4 separate regions of the Homo sapiens genome follow, and regions 2, 3 and 4 are each linked to region 1. Evidence: promoter capture Hi-C in 16 types of primary human blood cells and fetal thymus (Javierre and others, 2016). All regions are on one chromosome and are shown on one strand. Each heading gives the region's core, a stretch centred on a gene start or on the middle of the fragment in contact. The rest is flanking DNA. Distances are from core to core; before and after follow the strand shown.

Region 1 (2,576 bases), core at 48-2,547:
CCTCCTCTAGCCCTGGTTCCCGCCTCGCCACGGATCCGCCGCCCCTGCCGGCCTGAAGGGCAGAGGGGCCCCATCCCGCCCCCCGCGCTAGTGTCGCCAGGCGGCGCCCTTCCACGAGCAGAACGGCCGCGCGGGACGCTTCCCGGGGCAAGGCCGTCCCCTCCCAAGCCCCCAACCCCCGGGCAGCGGACCGCAGGCCGCCTTCGGGAAAGGCTGCGAGATGCTGAGCGCGCGTTTTAACCCAACAGGAAAGCCGGGCGGAGGGGGAAGGCGCTTGGCCCGGGACTGCACACTGGGACTCCCAGTGCAGTGCTCCCCGCGGGGTCCTGGCCGCCGACTCCCGCCCCTGTGCCCCAGCCCCACGGCGCCCGGGAGACTCACCTTCTCCCCGGTCAGCACGTGCAGCCCCTCGCGCACCTTGGCAAAGGAGCCCTCGCCCAGCTTCCTGCTGCCGATGAGGTAGTTGCCCACGCGCTTGTGGTGCTGGAAGTCGCGGAGCCGCTCGCGGGGCACGCCGCTCACCCAGGCAGGCAGGAAACTTCCCTCGCAGGCCGCCGCGGGCCTGGCCGCGTCCTCCGCGCCGCCGCCGCCCCCAGGCGCCGCCGGCTCCCCCAGGAGCCCGTCCCCCGCCGCCGCCGGCATCGCGCTCGCCGCGGCCCGCGCGGCTCCTGCTCGTCTCCCGCGCTCGCAGCTCCTCCTCCCCAGGCTCTTCGGCTTCCCCGGCTTCTCCCGCCGCCGCCCTGGGCCCAGCCCCGCCTGGGTCTCCGCACCCAGAGCCCGGGGCCGCCGCGATCACGCCCCCCGCGCCGCCCAGCGAGGCGCGTAGACAATAGCGGCTGCCCAGGGGACGCGGGACCGGGGACCCCGCCCCCAAAAGTTCTTCCTCTTAGGGTCGCCCGGGCCCCTTTCAGGACACCAGGATCCCGCCCCGGGTCCCGTCCAGGAAGCTAATGACAGTCGCCCTGCTCGGGCGCGCGGGGTGGGGCGCGGTCCGGCGGCGCCTGGGTCCCGGGGTCCGGGTGCCTGGGTCCGGGAGCCCGGGTGCCTCCGCAGCCTCCGCCTCGCCGCCGCCGTCTGGCCCGCACGGGCTTGGGTCGGGCTCCCGCGATCGCTCCTAGCCGTGCGCTGGGCGGCCGCTCCCGCCGGAGAGAAGCGCGCGGCGGGCTGCCGGCGCCCTCTGGAAGGCAGCAGAAGAAAGCCCCATTCAGTTTGAATTTGCAGAAATTTAATCCGCTCGCGGGCGGCGGGAACAGATGCGAGCTCCACTCCGCAGCCCGTGCACTTTCAAATCCCTAGTAGCCCCTCCTTCCCCGCGCGCCACAGTCAAACTCGACCCTCGCTGGAGAGGGGAGGGCCCGGGGAGGGGAGCGGCGGAGTGGACGGAGAAGCCACCTGAGCGCCAGACAGGGAGAACCTGCGCGGCCTCGGAGGCGCGCGCTCCCGGGCCGCCCAGGTCGGGCCGCCTCCGGCTGCGCCTCTTGCCCGGATTCTGGGCTTGGGTTTTCTGGACCTTTCGGCGGTGAAATCCCCCACTGGCCGCACCCACCCGGGGCGGGGGGAAGGGGGAAGGCTCTCGAACTCCGTGGACTGTGAGTCGGGTTGCGTGCCCGGCCCTGAGTCCGCCACACAGTAGGGCCCCCTGGACCGGGGGTGGAAGGATAGATGGATGGCTGGAAGAAAGGGTGGGGAGGCGGCCAGGCGTCTGCCCGGGCTCGCACGCAGCCTGGTTGGCTGTGTTGGAGGAGGCGCAGCCACAGCAGTAATAGTAGCAGCAGCAATGTAGGAACCAGGGCGTTTGCTGCCTCTGCTTGTAGCTTACACCTTCTTTGCCTTCCATTGAAATGATGCCTGTGATTGCAGGAGGTGGACCGGCGCTCGCCTCTCTTCGATGCTTTTGTTCTGCAAGCGCTGTGACTGTGCTCATCGCATAAACAATTGCAACTGCCCTGACGACACTGGACCCTCTCCCAGGATCCCCAACGTCTTCTCAAACCGAAAATGAAGAATCTTGTGAGGGAGAAGGAGGAGGGTAGGTAGGAGGAGGCATTTACAAAATGCTACCTGTTGAGGTGCCCGCATTTGATGGAAACTTCACCCCGATCATGCAACATCAGAGCTGAAAGGAAGGATTTGGTCCTAACAAAGTTCCTTTCATTGTTTATTCCTGAGTAAACAAGTATGACATCGACCCATAGCAATGCTTTGAGATTGGGAGTGGGGGGTGGGGGAACAACAGCTGTCATCAATCCAGTGTCTGGGGGTCTCGCTGACCCATCTGAAGAGGGACGCAGAGAAATGCCTGCTTTCAATACATCTAATTTTAAATACGCTACTATATTCATCCACCTACCTGTTACAAGTCACCAGCCTCAGTTATTATGACGGAACATACTGCGTTTTCTGTTGTTCTGTCTCATTGTTCCCGTTTACCAATATTAAAGATACAGCTTAAAATGTTTTTCTTGCTGTGCTGAAGGGACTTCTTTGCTCCCACCGGCCTTGACTATTTCAGTAACGTTCATTCAATCCTTTTAATGTCTCTAATTCAGTAATCAAATCTTAACAGGACAGTTGCA
Region 2 (2,576 bases), core at 56-2,555, 400 kb before region 1:
TGGAACCCAATTTCACTATCTGGCAGATAATTCTTTGCAGTGTGTGATTTGAGGTTCTACTTGTTCCAAGTTTACTGTGGAATGAATTTTCCCCTCTAATTTTAGCCATTCTATTAATGTTAGTGGTTTTCAGGGAAAGGGAGGAAATAACCTTTTAAAATTTTTCTTAAATTTTTATTTAAAAATTTTTTTTTAGAGATGGAGTCTCGTTATGTTGTCCAGGCTGACCTCGAACTCCTGGCCCCAAGCCATTCTCTCACCTTGGCCTCCCAAAGGGTTGGGATGACAGGTGTGAGTCCCTGCGCCTGGTTGGAAATAACTCTTATTCTGCTATCTTTTCCCAGAAGACCCCAGTACATTTAGTTTTAAACCGCTCTTTTGTGTGTTTGACTTTGGGCTTATTTTTTGTCCTCCGAGTTCTAAAAAGTTGGATTAGAAACTCTCTGTCTGCAGGTATGTTATAACGAACTACATTAATAAATTATTGTTACTTTCTCTGTTTCTAGGTGTTTCCTGTAATGTTTCTGTGGATAAGGAACAGAAGCTATCCAAACGTGAAAAGGAAAATGGTTGGTGAGTAAAACTGTATTTATATGAATATGTTAGAGAATTTTCTTTAATAAAAATCTTTAAAAGGTCATTACTAGTAGTAAGATTACTTGGGATAAAACTTTTCATGATAGTAAAAAAATCAGTCGTTCGCATATATCAGTTCTTTTTTTTGCTTTTTCTATATCCTGTTTTAGAAAGGAATATGTTAGTTCTTGAGTGGTTGTGGTCACCTTTAGATATTGAAAAGTTAGAGTTTCTAGATTTCTAAAAGCATATGCTGACATTCCCTTTTTGGATCTTTGGGCTTGGTGCTGAAGAAAATCAAAAATAAAAATAGAAAAAGAAGGTCGGGCACGGTGGCTCACGCCTGTAATCCCAGCACTTTCGGAGGCCAAGGTGGGCAGATCACCGGGGGGTCAGGAATTCGAGACCAGCCTGGCCAACATGGCAAAACCCCGTCTCCACTAAAAATACACAAATTAGCCGGGCATGGTGGTGCGGGCCTGTAATCCCACCTACTCAAGAGGCTGAGACAGGAGAATCACTAGAACTACGGAGGTGGAGGTTGCAGTGAGCCAAGATCGCCAGTGCACTGCAGCCTGGGCAACAGAGAAAGACTCCGTCTCAAAAAAAAAAAAAAAAAAAAAAAAAAAGAAGAAAAGGAAATACCTATATTATAAAATCTCAATGTTAAAGGGTGCCTTAGGCTAATGCTGCCCAACTTTCTCATGTTATGGCACACACATAAAATGCTGCTGTCACACACACAGCCTATTGGGGTAAACAGACAAGGCTGTTTGTGGCAAGAGCAAACAACACAGGAGCTCCAGCAATCTGAAGCCCTGTGTGGCCACTTTAAGGGTAGAGGGGACAAATATCTTGCCATACCTGCCACCCATGTGCCATAGTGACGCCTGAGCAAACTGAGTGGGAAGCGCTGCCCTATATAATTGTTGCTGCAAATGTAAACTGTATCTTACACTTGCGTATGAAATAACTTTAGGTGGTACACAGTTAAACAAAAATTAATTATGTGTATATTTTAATGTGTATTAAAAATACTGGCTTTTCATTTTTAGTGATGCTAGAGTATCCTATCAAATAAAGTATATTTCAATTTAAAAAAAATTACTCTGTGCACTTATGACCAAATACCTCCTGATGACCCCTCCTCCCAATACCATCACATTAGGAGCTACCATTTCAACTTATACATGTGGTAGGGGACAGAAACATTCAATACTTAGTCGCTCCTAAAACCCTTTCGATTTCTTGAGTGATGGGGTGATAAGGGTATCTTTTGTTACCATGTTTGGTCTTAGTCCCCAGTTCTGACAGAAGAGCTTCTAAGATGCTTGGAATCTCTGGAGTGATAATAATGTCGTTTTTAATCCTAATGAGGTGACTGTGGCTGGGGGGCTTCTATGTAGCTTCAGGATTGGGGGCCAGAAGGACCAAGGCATGATTAGAGGGTTGGAAGTTTTGGCCCTACCCCAACCTCTTCTCCTACCTCCATCGAGGGCAGAGGGGCTAGAGATTATCAGCAATGGTGTAATTAATCATGCCTGTGTTATAAAACCTCCAAAAAACCCATGGGTTTTAGAGAACTTCCAGATTGGTGAATATGAGATGCCGGGAGGGTGGTGTACCTAGAAAGGTCTTGGAAGCTCTGTGTCCCCCTTCTGTAACCTTTGCCCTATGTATCTCTTCCATAAAAGTGAAAAAAAAAAAAAAAGAAAAAAAGTTTCTCCATTTAAGATAAATTAGTAATAGTACAGATGGTTTGTGGATGTGACAGAAATTGTGGTGCCGGCATGCAGGCCATAAAAATTTGGAAAACCCACCTCAGATCATTTCTCATTTGGTAGTTGAAGAAAGTTAGGCCCAGGGAGGCTAGAACTTTGCTAAGGTCACAGGACTAATTAGCAGTAAGAGCTAGGATGATGCTTGTTACCCTTCCTTACTGCCTTCGAAGTGCTCTTTCTTCTCCACTTTCTAGCTCTAGCTCTAGCCATTTTGATATC
Region 3 (2,576 bases), core at 26-2,525, 360 kb before region 1:
AGGGAATGAGTGTTGTGATCAATTAGCTATATCTGCCATGGGCATGGGTCATCTCTGTGGAGACCCATGCTGGGAGGAGAGGAGAGGAAAGAATGAAATAGGTGCTCCTCTGTCTCAAGAGCTCTGGTAAAATGTTTACTGAGGAAAGTTATGAAAATTACAGAATAAGATTTGCATTACAGCTTACTGTTAGTCCGTTCTTGTGTTGCTATAAAGGAATACCCAAGGCTGGGTAATTTATAAAGAAAAGAGGTTTTATCTTGGCTCATGGTTCTGTAGGCTGTACAGGAAGTGTGGTGCCGGCCATCTGCTGGGCTTCTAGTGAGGCCTCAGGAAGCTTCCAATCACGGCAGAGCCTGCATGTCACATGATGAGAGAGGGAGCCAGAGAGCCAAGGGGGAGGTCTCAGACTCCTTTAAACAAGCAGTTCTCACATGAACCGAGTGAGAACACACTCATCACCATGGATGCTGCTAAGCCAGTCATGAGGGGGTCCCACCTTCAACATTGGGGATTATATTTCAACAGGAGATTTGGAGGGGACAAACATCCACACCACATCATGGCCCAACCATTGCCTTATAAATTGAGATCTGGCACTACCTCTTTCCTAAGGACTCAGAAGCAGAGCTTCTGGTAAGAACCTTTGGTTGCAAGCAACAGATTTCATTCCTGGGTAACTTCAGCACGTTAGGCATTAGGACTATGGGAAGCACATTGAGGGAGCTCATGGGATCAAAGAAAGACCGTAAGGCTGAGCAGGAATTGGGGCCACTCCAGCATCCTCAGCATCAGGACTGCTTTCTAGGGTGGGGCCAGAACCCTCCGCTCCAACCACCTCTGGTCTCTCTGATTCCTTCTTTTTGATCAACTTATAATTTTAGAATAGTTTCAGTTTACTGAAAAGTTGCAAGAATATTAGAAAGAGTCCCTGTACTATTTCCCCTATTGTTAACACTGCTATGGTACATTTGTCACAAATAATGAACGGATGTTGACACATTGTTATTACCTAAATTCCACAGTTTACTCAGATTTCCTTAGTTTTTATTTAATATCATTTTTCTGCCCCAGGAGCCCATCCAGGGCACTGCATTACATTTAGTAGTCATATCTCCCGAGGCTTCTCTAGACAGAATTTCTCAGACTTTCCTTGTTTTTGATGACTGGACAGTTTTGAGGAGTATTGGTGAGGTGTTTGTAGAATATCCTTTACTTTCTGTTCCCCTTTAATTTTGGCTCAGTTTGAGTCCAGCGTCTTCCTCCTTGGATCAATTTGCCATGGCCAGGGGCAGAGTGGGAGCAGAACAAGTCCATGGTTGGGGTGGGGGTCATTGTGAACCCTAGCCATCCCATTTTGTGCCTACAACCTTGGTAATGAAATCAGGGTCCCCTGCCTGCAAGATAAGATGAAACGAATTACAGCTCCCAGGAGGATGATTCCATATGCCCACAATGGTAGCATAAGAAGTGGCACAAAATTTGATGGCCAAGGTTAAGCAATTGTAGAGAGGAAACCTGAGTAATTCTGACCAGAATCAAAGCCGTGGCTGCTACGTACTTTATTCTCTGTGCTTCAGCTTAAAACAGGAGAGTATGCCTGAAATTCCTTTTCCATTGCTTGTCATTTTGATTACAGTATCACTGCACATAGCAATTTTTTTTCCTATCAACAAAATGGCAAACCCTCAAAGTGTAGATTCTTACGATTACACGGTACAATTAATTTGCTATTTCTTTTGTTTCTCTCCCCATCCCAACCCTGAAGATTACAGAACAATTGATGTGCAAGACCTTGGTTAAAAACAACTGCTGCTGAGAAAAATTCAGAAATGCAATTCATTTCTAAATAGGTCATTTACATAGCAAAGAGCTGTGGTGCTCACTGAACTGAGCTGAACTCATTGAACTCATTGACTCATGCCTTTATTCAGAAAACAAGGAATTCATCCAGGAAAGCAATTAAACACTGGCCTATTTAAAGAAACCTGTTGCTCTTTTGTAAACTGGACAATTATTTGTTTGCCCAGAATATAGAGGTTAAGTGAATTTAGACTACTGCCTTTCCTGTTTTCAAATAGAAACAATTTCACTGTGTATGTCAAAGCTGGACCAGGTAAAATGATCATTTTCAGGTTCCCATTGATTCTCCATCTCTGCTCACTCTAATACCCTGTAGAGAGCACCTAAAATCTACTCTCTTAGCAAGCTTCCAGTATACAATATAATATTATAACTATAGTCCTCATGTTGTACATTAGGTCTCTAGGTTTTATTCATCCTGCCTATCTGCAACTTTGTCTCCTTTGACCTATATCTCTTCATTTCTTCCCTCTCCTTCCACCTTCCTGGTAACCACAGTTTTAATTCTTTGTTTCTATGCATTTGACTCTTTAAAAATTTCTTCATATAAGTGAGATCATGCAGCATTTTTCTTTCTGTGTCTGGTTAATTTCACGTAGCATGATGTCCTCCAAGTTCATGTATGTTGTCACAAAGATGAATAATATTTGTATTTTTTAAAGGCTGAATAATATTCAATTATATATATACACAAAATGAATATTATTCTGTAT
Region 4 (2,576 bases), core at 33-2,532, 340 kb before region 1:
ATGTGGCATTTTAGATTAACAGGAATATATCAGAGCTTTTAAAAGCTCTCTTTGAACAAGTCATTCTCCAGCTTTTCCTTTTAAGCTCTTTGGTTGGCCTATTATTTGCCCCAACTGCTATCTACTGCCTCAGGCAGTCAAGATGCTTTGTTTTAGACAAATATCCTCTGAAGAAAAGGCTTTTTGCACTGGAAGAGCTCTGAGTCACATCACATAAAGACAGCATTGTTGGTGGGGTCTTCCAGGAAAGTAGACAGGTGGAATGATGACAGTTCTCTGGAAATGGAACTTTGAGGGGGCTCCAGAACTGTTCTTCTCCTTCCAGTGGCTGTCAGACTAGGTTTTTGAGATTTTTCACTGCGATTGTGGGCTGTTGGTTTTCCAGAGTACTGCAAATCTGGGGGTACGGGTAAGGGATGGGAATAGGCAAATTAAAATACCACAAAGCTTTCTATTTTTTTACCAAGATTCAGCCATTGTTACTGAATAAATGCACCTCAGATTGTTGCAAGCCTTTGGTTAATTTCTAAATTTCTGAAAAATTTGATTCTGACTTTTTTTTGGTTAGTGTTTTTGTTGCTTTTATGGAGGAGAGGAGTTTTAGAGGTCTTTAGTCCACCACATCCACTAACATCCCCCACATCTTCTTATGGTGATGGCACCACAGAGTGTTAGAAATTCATCTTAGAATGTTAGACCTTTTTGTTATGATCTAAATTTTTGTATTCTAGCCTGCAAACTTTTTGTTTTCATAGAATGACAAATAGTGGGAAAAACCTCCCACCAAAATAATTTTTACTAAAATGTGCCTCTCAGTTTTTGGTTCAGGTACTCTAGGTCACTGTAATCATAGAACCAGATTATCCCATACCAGAGAAACAAGTGACTAATGACTAATTGGAATAATCCAGGGAGGCTCCTCCTGATCCTCTCCAGGACAAAATTATGAGTAAGAGGGCAAGAAAGAAAGGCAGCGGCTATCTTTGTGTTTCAACAAAAAGAAGATACCTATGTTCAGCCTGCCTCTGCTTGTCCTCTAGAGCTCCCTCTGAGATGGATACCAGCTTGTCATCTGATTTCAGCTGGGGTGAGATATCCTGACCGTCCCTGGCTTCCCTAGTGAACATCAGCACATGGAGATAAGCACTTACCTCGCGTTCCTACCCCTTGGCCTACCAGGGCTGTTTTCTGGGAAATCAGCCTTGCTGGGAAGCCACAATCTTTTCTGTTTAGCAATAGCCAGTGGAGATGCTTTTAACAGTGGGTCACAGCCGGAGATCTCTCCCAAATGTTTCCCCACAGTGCTACCCCTGTAAATTTTGGTGGAAAAACAATTTGGCTCAGACAAGGTGAGTGCAGGGGGAAAGGAGGGGTGAGAGGGAGAGAGGGCAAGCCTGAGCTGGCTGCTGGCTGGCCCTTGCTGTGACCCTGATTTGCAGTGTGTCTTTTGGAGGCTTTTAAATCACGTTAGTCTCTGTCTGTCCCTGGCTTAATGAACAGTGTCAGAACAGCCAAGCACTCTCCTGCTTAGCCTCACCAGGTGGCCTGAGCCCACAAGATGTCAACATTCACAGGCCCTGGGTGCAGCTTGGCTTGCTTATGTCCCCGTCCCATTGCCCTCCCTCTCACAGAGTCCTGAGTTTGTCCCCTTGGCTCCGGGAGACTCAGCCTGGAGTGTTCTCTGGGGCAGCTAGACCCTGTCCAGCCAGTGGTCTTGACTCACACTGGACTTACCTGGGGGAATCCCACCCTGACCCAGTTAAACCAGAGGCTCCGGGGCTGGGGCTTGTGATCACTGGGCAGGTGAGTCATTTCTTAGCTTGGCACAGTGAGTGAGTGGCAGGGCAAGGGCCGGGCTGCAGGTATCCTGTCCCTCAGCCCAGAGCTCCTTGTGCTGTAGGTAACATTGCTATTGTCATTGCTGTTATTTCTGTATCCTTGTTTTCCAATCTGGACTCCAGAGACTGTCAAGGGTTTATTTTGAAATATGGTAATGGGAGTTGTGTGCTTCTTTTCAAGATTTTTAAAAGTTTAATGGAAATTATGCCTTAATCTGTGATTAGAACATATAGGCTACTACTTACTAAATGTAGATGGTTAAGAAGACAAAAAGCTTTTAAAACCCAAGAGCTCATGGAAGAAAAATAATAACAAGATCACTAGTCAACCATACATATGTATAAAAGTTTGGAAAGCGCAGCACCAAACCTTCCTGACTGGGACCCTTGCAACCCGTCTGCATCCCAGCTCTCGCCTCTCCAAGGTTCTTGCCAAAGGAAGTGACTTTGTCAGAATTTTCTAGGTCCAATGCACTCTCTAGATGAGACCCCACCAACTGCCAAGATGTGGAGCTCTGAATCAACCTCCTGAGGAATGTGGTGGATCCTCTCATGTCCCATCTGAGAATGGGGGTTTCTGGCCTCCAAGGTGGACCTGATAGCTATGTTCCTCAGAGAAGAGAGGTGGGGTGTGGGGTCAAGGGCGTGGGCACCATGGGAGTGAGGGACCACAGCCTTTAACACAGCAATCCCTCCACTGGGGAGCACTGGCTGGTGGATGTCAGAGTGTCTACTCTG

What was found. Contacts are between HindIII fragments. The CHiCAGO score rates a contact against its expected background, and 5 or more counts as called.
Region 2: a contact is called between a fragment that was not itself captured here and the fragment with the promoter of HUNK in region 1, in 6 of 17 cell types (endothelial precursors, erythroblasts, M1 macrophages and 3 more). The highest score is 8.5, in endothelial precursors.
Region 3: a fragment that was not itself captured here is called in contact with the fragment with the promoter of HUNK in region 1 in 2 of 17 cell types (endothelial precursors and M2 macrophages); the score reaches 7.3 in endothelial precursors.
Region 4: a contact is called between a fragment that was not itself captured here and the fragment with the promoter of HUNK in region 1, in 1 of 17 cell types (endothelial precursors). The highest score is 5.6, in endothelial precursors.

Annotation. Positions count from the first base shown.
Region 1 is chr21:31,871,741-31,874,316 of GRCh38, reverse strand. It overlaps HUNK (hormonally up-regulated Neu-associated kinase), which reads right to left and starts at 1,297. Exons shown (of 11, transcript NM_014586.2): 1 at 382-1,297. The coding sequence starts at 642. RefSeq lists silencers at 24-203, 1,130-1,179. The HindIII fragment of the contact is 7,184 bases long and covers 1-2,576 here.
Region 2 is chr21:32,272,827-32,275,402 of GRCh38, reverse strand. It overlaps MIS18A (MIS18 kinetochore protein A), which reads left to right. Exons shown (of 5, transcript NM_018944.3): 2 at 507-573. Among named protein-coding and RNA genes, the nearest start is that of MIS18A, 4.9 kb to the left of the region's middle. The HindIII fragment of the contact is 4,985 bases long and covers 1-2,576 here.
Region 3 is chr21:32,232,513-32,235,088 of GRCh38, reverse strand. It overlaps a transcript of MIS18A not described here. Among named protein-coding and RNA genes, the nearest start is that of MIS18A, 45 kb to the left of the region's middle. The HindIII fragment of the contact is 1,872 bases long and covers 340-2,211 here.
Region 4 is chr21:32,214,062-32,216,637 of GRCh38, reverse strand. It overlaps a transcript of MIS18A not described here. Among named protein-coding and RNA genes, the nearest start is that of MIS18A, 64 kb to the left of the region's middle. The HindIII fragment of the contact is 1,666 bases long and covers 450-2,115 here.